3 separate regions of the Homo sapiens genome follow, and all the other regions are linked to region 3. The links are contacts of gene promoters, found by promoter capture Hi-C in blood cells and fetal thymus (Javierre and others, 2016). All regions are on one chromosome and are shown on one strand. The core of a region is centred on a gene start or on the middle of the fragment in contact, and the rest is flanking DNA. Distances in the headings are between cores, read along the strand shown.

Evidence for each region. The method cuts DNA at HindIII sites, captures the fragments that hold promoters and counts their contacts. A CHiCAGO score of 5 or more calls a contact.
Region 1: a contact is called between a fragment that was not itself captured here and the fragment with the promoter of DOCK5 in region 3, in 1 of 17 cell types (neutrophils). The highest score is 7.8, in neutrophils.
Region 2: a fragment that was not itself captured here is called in contact with the fragment with the promoter of DOCK5 in region 3 in 1 of 17 cell types (neutrophils); the score reaches 6.3 in neutrophils.

What each region holds. Positions count from the first base shown.
Region 1 is chr8:25,410,568-25,413,609 of GRCh38, forward strand. It overlaps DOCK5 (dedicator of cytokinesis 5), which reads left to right. Exons shown (of 52, transcript NM_024940.8): 52 at 627-3,042. The coding sequence ends at 731. Among named protein-coding and RNA genes, the nearest start is that of GNRH1, 12 kb to the right of the region's middle. The HindIII fragment of the contact is 1,186 bases long and covers 888-2,073 here.
Region 2 is chr8:25,364,073-25,367,538 of GRCh38, forward strand. It overlaps DOCK5 (dedicator of cytokinesis 5), which reads left to right. Exons shown (of 52, transcript NM_024940.8): 30 at 554-632; 31 at 2,798-2,898. Among named protein-coding and RNA genes, the nearest start is that of MIR6876, 20 kb to the left of the region's middle. The HindIII fragment of the contact is 1,996 bases long and covers 618-2,613 here.
Region 3 is chr8:25,183,406-25,186,767 of GRCh38, forward strand. It overlaps DOCK5 (dedicator of cytokinesis 5), which reads left to right and starts at 1,284. Exons shown (of 52, transcript NM_024940.8): 1 at 1,284-1,546. The coding sequence starts at 1,504. LOC124901912 (a long non-coding RNA gene) reads right to left here and starts at 972. Exons shown (of 2, transcript XR_007060861.1): 1 at 1-972. RefSeq lists silencers at 1,102-1,181, 1,192-1,361, 1,532-1,581. The HindIII fragment of the contact is 10,671 bases long and covers 1-3,362 here.

The DNA.
Region 1 (3,042 bases), core at 231-2,730, 230 kb after region 3:
TCTCCTACCTTGGCCTCTCAATTAGCTGGGACTACAGGCATGTGCCACCATGCCCAGCTAATTTTTTAATCTTTTGTTGAAATGGGGTCTCTCCATATTGCCCAGGCTGATCTCAAACTCCTGGCCTCAAGTGATCCCCCCCACCCACCTCAGCCTTCCAAAGTGCTGAGATTACAGATGTGAGCCACTGCCTGCCCCCAGCCCTCTATTTCACATTTGAAGAGTTTACTTCTTCTGAATAAAGGACAGTCATTCTGGAGTGACCTCAGATGGGTTTCCTTCAGTCATTTAACAAATGACTTTTAAGTGCCTCCTGTCTATACGCCAGGAACCCAAGTGTTGGGGATATGGCAGCGAGAGAGAGAGAGAAAATGTGTGTGTGTGTGTGTGTGTGTGTGTGTGTGTGCGCGCGCGCGCACGCACGCACGCACGCACGCGTGTGTCTGATTAGCTCATGGGAAACAAGGAGGATAAGTCAGTGTAGTTTTCCATTTCACTTTGCAAAGCCTGTGTAGATAAACTCAGATCAATTAGAAGCTAAAGCAGAATATGAGAAATAGGAGGAGAAGGCAGAATTGGGAAGAAAGCTAAGACCTGCTTCTAATTTTGTGTTTCTGCTTCTGCAGCTCGCTCCCCCACTGCCTGTCCGAAGAGAAGCCAAAGCACCACCCCCTCCACCTCCAAAGGCTCGGAAGTCTGGCATCCCTACTTCCGAGCCTGGATCCCAGTAAGGATCTTGCCCTCCCTGCAACACCGAGTGCCTTAGACAGCTGCTGCCTGAGAACTGGCCTCCAGCCGGTGTCCTCATTCCATGGGGCTCCCTGCTGACTGCATTTCCTGATCTGGGATGATGTTTACCAGCCCAAAACCAGTCATGTTCTTCCAAAAGCTTCTCTTTGATAGAATTTTGAGGCCATGCCACCTCCCTTCCAGTCCACATGGAATTCCAGAATCAGTCACAGCCTCTGATTTTTTCCAAGAAGAGATTGCCTTCACCATTGTTAAATGTCAGCCTGTACGGCAGAGACATGGTGGTCTGCACAAGCCTGGACAAGTTCTTCCATATTGATGGTGGAGCAACCCCTGTAATCTACTCCTTGGAAGGATTTTTTGCTTTGCTTATGAAAAGCTGTGCTTGAGACTTAGGTACTTTTCTCACGTGGACACACTGATCCCATCCCATATTGCATCTTGGAAGAGATGGATATCAAGTACACTTTGGTAGCTGAAATAATCATATCTTTCTGATGTCTATTGTATCTCCTTTGAGGAAAAGAACACACATTTTTAATGGAGATTGGCTGCTTTCAGGTATGTGTGTCTATCATTGAAAGAGCATGGACTCAAACATCAGCCCTGAGTTCTTGAGTCCACCCAACTCCCATCTTCTTGTGGCACAGGAAAGCTGCCCTCTCCCTCTCCCACCACACTCCTGACTAATGGCCTTCACTGCGTCGCAGTCACTCCTTCCCTACGGACTTCTTTGAAGCTCTTCCTTTTGCACATACGGCTTTTTTTTTTTTTTTTTTTTTTTGTCCTATTACCTCCTCTGAGCGCAAATCACTGGCTACAAGGGACTTACCAGTCTGGATTCAGCAGTTTCTTTTCTAAAACCCATTTGGGTGACTCAGCAGCCGCATCTGCTACCTGATTTTATCCTGGAGAATACAGTGCAATATTTCTCTTTGATTATTTATTCCTCTTGATTGTGGAATTAATTTGATTGCTTGCTAATGGTACTAGTAGTACTCCTTTCAGAAGAAAAAATGGAGCGATTTAGGTGACCAAATATTACATACATAAATAGCCACATGAAGTTTTAGACGTTTGGACTTGAAGCCTCAAAGATCAACCAACCAGTCCCCTTATTTAGTAAATAAGGAAATTGAGGCTACACACAGAAAATTGTGCTACAGATTATTACTAATAACCCAGCTTGCTAAATTAGGCTATACCTAGGTAATCTCTAGAAGACAACTCTGACAGACTCTTTAATATTTACCCCTGGTTGGAACAATATTTGAAATGTCCCAGATATTTCTATGCTACTTAGATATTTGTGGCAAAGCAGAAAGCTTTTTGACTGTGAAGGCAGAGGTCAGCACTGGGGGAAACTTGCTGGTGGTCTCTCCCACAACCTTGCCCAGAGTCCTTTCCACTAAGGAGGTGAAGAGAACAGAGAAAGAGATTTCCATTTCTGCTGCCAGAGCTGGTATTTGCCTGCCTGATTCTCTGTGTTTCCTGTTTCACCGCCACCCTTTCAGGAGAGAACTACACCAGTTCATCATGAGGGTCAGGGAAGCAAAAGCTCTCAGATGTGTCCAGGGCGTTACTTAAGAAATGAGTATGCAGATTCTGGAAGGGGTGTGGAAAAGGTGATCCTTTACCCCCACCCAGGAAAACCTGCATTGTGCTAGCATGGAAGAATCATGGGCTTTGGAATTAAACCCATTTGGTGGAATTAAACCCATTTGGTTTCAAATCCCAGTTATGACATCTGTTAACTTTGCAAACTCACAAAAATTATTTGAAATTATCTGAGTTTTCATTTTCTCACCTTCCAGAATGGGGATAATGCCTCCTGCATCGGTTGTTGTGAGGTTTCAATGAGATGAAATATGGGAAAGAAGAGGTACTCACCTGATGGTCCCTGCTTTCCTCTGCTAGGCCTGAGTAGGAACTGGAACTCTCTAAGAGCATTACTCATACTTTTTTTTTCTTCCAAGGTAGTTTGGAATGTGAGTGCAAGTTAGTTCTGCACATACAGCCCTTCTCCAAATGGTGGTTTCCTTTGAGGTCTTTTACATGATTATTTATGACTAGAGACAAACTTAATAAGAACTCAAGAGGATTTTAAATGGAGAGAACTCAAGCTGTAGAGAAAGGAGGAGGCAACAGACAGGATATGTAGGGGCTTACCTAGAGCCTGGCACGACTTCTGAGAAGTCACCCAGCAGACCGGCTAGAGGGGATTTGTGTGCCACACTCTACTTGCCGGGCTGCCATTAAAATAGAAAGATATAAAACTGGGTCACCAAAAAA
Region 2 (3,466 bases), core at 366-2,865, 180 kb after region 3:
GCAATTGCTAGCCCACAACAAATACTTGTTGAACAGAAGTGAAATGAACTGAATATATATTATATTAAAAGAGTGTTAGAGTTTAATGAGATAAATAAACCATTATTGTAAGCATTATTATTAACTCTACATGATACCCAATTCTGAGTAATTCTACTCTAACACCTGATTAGAAGAAGCCTTCTCTGCTATGTACAGATTAGATTTAAAAAATTACACCAGAAACCCTAAGCTTAAACAGAAGGATCATAATAGAGTCTATATATATTACCCTCCTCTGAGGCTTAAGAGTCCTGGTTTGCAGTCTCAGATCTACCTTCAATTACCTAAATTGGGATGTGGCCCTGAGTGGCTCTTCTTGTTTGTTCTGTAAACTGACCTCCTGTGCCCCATCTGCGGATGGTGTTATGCTGTTGTCTGCAAGGACACTGTTAGATTATGAGGTCTTATGATGCCAAGTTCAGGTTTGGTTTGGTTTAGTTCTTAATATAGGTGGGAAAAGGTTTCAAAGGACATACAGTTGGCTTCTTTATCTGGTGTTTTCCTTCCGCAGGGTTTTTCTCCGTGCTATAAATCAGTTTGCTGAAGTTCTCACAAGATTCTTCATGGATCAGGCAAGCTTTGAACTTCAGGTAGGCATGTGACTCACCTACCTGCTTCTAGAATTCTTGGCCATGGCAAGAGAACTATATGAATTTGGAAAATGTCTCCTCAGATTTCACTGTTTTCACATGAAAAAGGTTTTCCTGTGTTTTTTCATTTCCTAAAGCACATATGCCTGTCACACTGTCCTCCAAACACAACAAAATAGGGGTGGTTTCTTCTTTCTATAAAGGTAACATATGTAAAAAAAAAATCTTAAAGAGTAATAGTAGAAGATCAAAAATATAAATAGTCCTCCTTGTCGCTATAAACATTTGGAGTTGACCCTTTGTATATTTACACAAATGCACATAGACACACATGGCTACAAATAAGCACACAGGTAACTCTCCTACCGACAAATGAGTTTGGTTCTAAAGAACAGTTCTTATGCACAGTTTGTTGAAAGTCCAAAGGAATTGCAAAACGGATGACCGCTAGCTCTATTTTCATTCATTCATTCATTTACTTATCCATTCATCCATTTAACAAATGTTAGAGTACTTACATGTACAGGGCCCTGTTTTGCGCCCTGGTAGGGGCATTTCCCTGGTGAAGGCAGATAAGTTCCTTGCTGTCATGGAGCTTACCTTCCAGAGTACTCTGCATTTTGTGGGTGATGTGCTTTCTGTGTTCTTTGTCTTTGCGTGTATCTGTGGAACTGTTATCAGTGGAGGTCCTTGACTACAGATTGTCCAAGTTCTTGACGTTTTGAACAAAATGCACAAACAAAGCAATGAAAGAATGAAGCAATAAAAGCCAGATTTATTGAAATGAAAGTATACTCCACAGAGTGGGAGCAGGCTCAAGCAAGTAGCTCAAGAGCACTGGTTACAGAATTTTCTGGCGTTTAAATACCCTGTAGAAGTTTTCCCATTGGTTACTTGGTTACACCCTATGTAAATGAAGGAGTAGCATGTGACCAGTCTGACCCTCCCACCAATTGTGGGAGGGGACTAATCAGAGGTACTTTCAATTTTTCATCTGCCACAGAGTGCAAAGGGGTAGCCTCTGATCCTTTTGTTACTTGGGTGTGGAGAGGTGGGGTTTTCCTTTTGATTCAGTTCTAGGAAGTCAGTGTGAATTGGCCTTCAGTGCCCTGCCTCCAGGCCCTGTTTTCCTGCCTCAGAACTTTAAAAGTTGAAAATCATAAGTAGAGGAAAGTATACACACATACACACACAGAGATGCATGCACATATAGATGAATATATATTGTATGTATGTGTATGTATATTTGCCAAAATGGAATTGAGCTGTGCAGTTCTTTGGTACTCTGTTAATCTGTTTTCCTTTTTCAATGATCTGTGATCTTTTCAATAATGTTGAATATTTTCCTGTTTTTAATGGCTGAATATCATCTGTTCTATGACTGGTCCATGATGTATTTAACCAAATTCTTCTTACGAACATTTAGATTGTTTCCATTTTCTATTATATTAAATAACACTGTGATGGACTTCCTTCCTTTAAATATTTAAAAATATTCGTGCTTGGCTGGGCACGGTGGCTCACGCCTATAGTCTCAGCACTTTGGGAGGCCAAGGCGGGCAGATCACCTGAGGTCAGGAGTTTAAGACCAGCCTGGCCAACATGGCGAAACTCCATCTCTACTAAAAATGCAAAAACTAGCTAGGCCTGGTAGTGGGTGCCTGTAATCCCAGATACTCGTCAGGATAAGGCAGGACGCTTGAACCTGGGAGGCGGAGGTTGCAGTGAGCCGAGATTGTACCACTGTACTCCAGCCTGGGCAACAGAGTGAGACTCTGGATCAAACAACAACAACAAAATTCATGGTTATTTCATCAGGATAAAGTCCTAAAAGTGTTTACTAATTCAAAAGTTTGGCAAACTTTTAGGACTTTTGAAACATAGTGCCAAAGTACATACTATAAATAGATACACTTCTTGGCAGCAGTTTTCCTTTATCCCAGGAGTAAAGAAAAATATAATAGCTTAAATTTTTTTAAAAAGCTTAACATTAAGTCTCAAAACTTTTAGGATTGAATAATCAAAACCTAAGAAGAATGTAGATTGTATTTTGTTCTTTCATTAATCTCTTGTTAATGACTTTTTACCATGTGACATTGTTTTATTATGGCCCTTATTAATGTTATTTTTCATTTCCCTTTACCCACACAATTAATTTTGAACAGCTCTGGAACAATTACTTCCATTTGGCAGTTGCATTTCTCACCCATGAGTCCCTTCAGCTTGAAACCTTCTCACAAGCCAAGCGCAACAAAATTGTTAAAAAGTAAGTGTCCTTTTAAAGTTAAGATCGGGAAGGGGCTTCTTCCATTTGTTTACATTGAGAGCAATATTTTAGGTATCACAGAAATTACTATTTAGTGGCTACCCATGTTGTTAGTGAGGTAAGTCTTCAACTAATTACTTAATAGGCCTCACATTCACCCAGGTTCAGCTCTCTTTTCTTAAGGCCCAACCATCTTCCCATCAGTCATCCCATGCTTTTTATCAAATCTGTACCTGGAGACGGACCTTGGCTGTCAGCTTGCCCATCCCCAAGAACAGCTGCGCCTCTGCTGGCAGCTTCCCCAAATTGCAGGCATAGTACCTCCTCATTCATAGCGCTTCACAAAGCACACTCCTTCAGCACAGTTGCTCCACCTCCCTGCCATTTCAGCAGAGAAAGCCAGGTCTCAGACATTGCATTAAAATGCCCTCCAGATTCCTGGTTTGGAATTCAAAATGGAATTATGTGCAGAAGTGATAAGAGATTTAGGGAAGCATTTCATTTCATTGAGAGACTGGAATCCAAAGACCATGTCGTTAAAAAATAACTTGAGGAATGTATTATTTGA
Region 3 (3,362 bases), core at 34-2,533:
TTCACCATGTTGGCCAGGCTGGTCTGGAACTCGTGACCTCAGGTGATCCACCCGCCTCGGCCTCCCAAAGTGCTGAGATTACAGGCATGAGCCACCACGCCTGGCCAACTACCTGTCTTTACTATCTTTACTACATGTTTGTCTTCCTTTCTTTTATATTCCTAAAACGCATGAAAACCTTCACAGGCTGCAAGGAGGATATAATTTCTCTCTAGAGGAATCTTCTTCGAAGGTGAACGTAATTAAGCTGGTCATTTACTCTACTTGCAATGTTACTTCTCGGTACAAGGTAGGGAGAAACCCCTGGATCTTCATTCTCCAAGTCTCTCCAGGAAGAAATGAATTCCAAGAGGGGAGCTCCAGAGAGGGCGCCACCTGGAGCCCAAGGCGGTTCAAATGCGCAGCCCCTTTGGGATCTTCGTCAAGAAAAGGCAGTCGTTGACGGAGAAAAGACGGGGATGCGCCTTGGCCCTTTCTCCACGGGAATGCTCTCTGGGCTGCTGGCTGGTTGGGAAAGGGAGGTCTGGGCATGAGGGTCTAAGTTTCTTCAGCTTAAGGTTGGGGGGTCCCCGGAGTTTGGGGATACAGGACTTCCAAATTAGGGCTTTCTAAACAATTTCCCTGCAGAGGATCCCCTAGCAAACGGTCTGATACTTCTGAGGAGCCCACCTCCCTTGCACCAGCTCTCCGGTGATAAAAGTTCTGCTTTCCAGGCTCTAAGCGGTGGCCCCGGGAGATTCAGTCTGCCCTGAGTCCGGCTTCTCCCGCTCGCGGCGCGGGTTCAAGCTCCAGGGGGTGAAGGCAGAAGTCAACTGCTCATTCATTCAACAAATATTTATTGCGCGCCCGCTTAGTGCCAGGCACCGGAGGTGCCCCGAGCAAGAAGCCGCTCTCGCTGATCCGTTTCCGCTCCCCAAGTGTCCGGCGCGCGCCGTGGGAGCGCAGCCCGCATCCCTCGCCCACCGGCCGCCCGGCCTGGGCGTGCCCGGCTCCTCCAGCGCAGCCCTCTGTCGGGAGCCGGACCCCCGGGACCCAGCCTCCGGGGTATCAGCCGGGTGGGGAGGGCGGGAGAAAGGCAAAGTGCCGCCAGCGTCAAAGTCCCGCCGGCCCAGGAAGCCGCTCCAGGGAAGCGCGCGAGGCGGAGCCGCAGTCGGCCCCCGCCCGGCAGAGCGCAGAGAGCGGCGCGGGCGGGAGAGGCCGGGCGCCCGCGGCTCGGAGGCGGCCCCGGCGGGCGGAGGGTGCGGCCGGCGGGAGGGACTGGGGCGGCGCCAGGAGGGGCGCGCACTGCTGCGCTGCAGCCCGGCCCAGCAGGTGACCGCGGGCGGCGCGGGCACGGGCACGGGCGCGGGCGGCGCGGCGAGGAGGCGGCCCGCGGAGTCCAGCGAAGTTTGGCGGAACATGGCGGAAGCGTCTGGGGCACGCAGGAGCGCGGGGCGGCGGCGGCCGGAGCCCGAGGAGCTGTAGCAGCCTTAGTCGCCGCCGCCGCGGGGCGAGGTCGCCGCCATGGCCCGCTGGATCCCGACCAAGAGGCAGAAGTACGGGGTTGGTGAGTGCGCGCCCCACCTTGTCCCGGCCCGACCCACGCGGCCAAGTTCGCGGACAGCGGCCCTGCCAGGTTTGCGCAGAGCCCGGCGGAGGACCCTGGCCGGGGGCTCGGCCCGGCTGCGCAGCTCTGGGAGCCGGGGACGGTAGGAGTCCTCTCCAGGGAGCGCCGATGGGGAAGTCGCCCAGGGTTTGGGGACTCCGAGTGCTTCCAAGTGCAGCTGAGCTTCGGGACCGTAATCCCGCTCTTGCATCCCAATCTCCGGCACTTCACACCAGGGAAATGTCAACGCGAGGGGGGCGCGCCTGCTGCTCTTTTGGGGCCGCAGCTCTGTGGCTCGCCCCGGTGCGCCCAGCGTGGGTTTCACCTGGGAGTAGGTGACCAGCCCGGGTCGGCACATGGACTGGTGCTCATTGTCCCAGTGCTTTCTGCCCCCCGCTTTCGTAGGTTCTTCTCAGACGCCCCTTAAGTGAGGAGTTGAGGGTGGAAAGCCGCCCTGCCCCCTTTCCTCCAGAGACTGGGATCTTGATGACAGTTGTGAGCTGGATGGAAACTAGAGTCGTGGCGTGGAAGTGATGGAAGGGACAGGAAGTTGTGGCACGGGAAGGGGGTGGCTGGCCCCTGGGGCTGTTTGTGCGCACTCATCCCCTAACGGAGCCTGTCTGGAGAGGGTGTAAGGCTGCCTTCCGGATCCTGAGTTTCATCCTGGAGACGAGAAGAGGACATTTTATTAAGGAAACTGTGCCAGACCCCGTGCTGGGCACTTGGCATTCAGAACAGCGGTGCTGGAGAGCCCCGGGTTGTGCGCAGGGGTTGCTGGTGGTGGTGCTTTGGCTCCGAAACAATAGATGTGCGGGGATTTTGACCCAGGTGGAAAGTCAGGCTCCTTTGGCTTTTTATCAAGGATTGAAGTTATTGAGGGCCTGTGGGAAGACTTCTGCCCTGAACGGGGTGATTACAATGGCAGTTAGACCTGGGGTGATTCCCTACAATAAACACGGCTGAGTGTGTTGCGAATTTTATCACTTCCTCTCAGATCCATTCATTTGGCCTGTTTGTAATTTAGTCTTTGACTTTACTCCCTTACTGAGGTCCTGTTTTTCCTCACCTCACTGGTTAATGAAGTGCAGTCTCAATTAAGAGCTACTCAACGTGTCTAGGGGCTTTTCAACTCTGTAGCCAGGAGTCAGGGTTTTTTGTTGTTGTTTGTTTTGTTTTTTAACAGTCTCATATTTACTATATTATTCTTAGGTTGTGATCCTTTATATATTTATTATTTTTTGTTTTCCCTCAATTCAAAAGACATTTTCTTTTTTGCTCTTAAGTTGCTTTTAGAATCTTAGTCTCTCCCTTAGCTGCATCTCAGAAATGGGTAGAGATGTTGCTTCTGCCTCAGGGCTCTTTTTTTTTTTTTTTTTGGTTTGTTTGTTTTTGAGACGGACTGACGAGGGAGTCTCACTCTGTCGCCCAGGCCGGAGTGCAGTGGCGCAATCTCGGCTCACTGCAAGCTCCACCTCTAGGTTCCAGCAATTCTCCTGTCTCAGCCCCCCTCCCCGAGTAGCTGGGATTACGGGCTTGCATCACTACACCTGACTAATTTTTGTATTTTTAGTAGAAACCAGGTTTCGCCATCTGGGCCAGGCTGGTCTCAAACTCCTGACCTCAGGTGATCCGCCTGCCTCGGCCTCCCAAAGTGTTGGGATTACAGTCATGAGCCACCTCACCTGGCCCCTAGATGAAAGCATATTTACAATGCCCAATCACTACAGAAATGTTATCAACTCTAATTTTATCAGGATTAAAAGCTCTTTTCAAAACT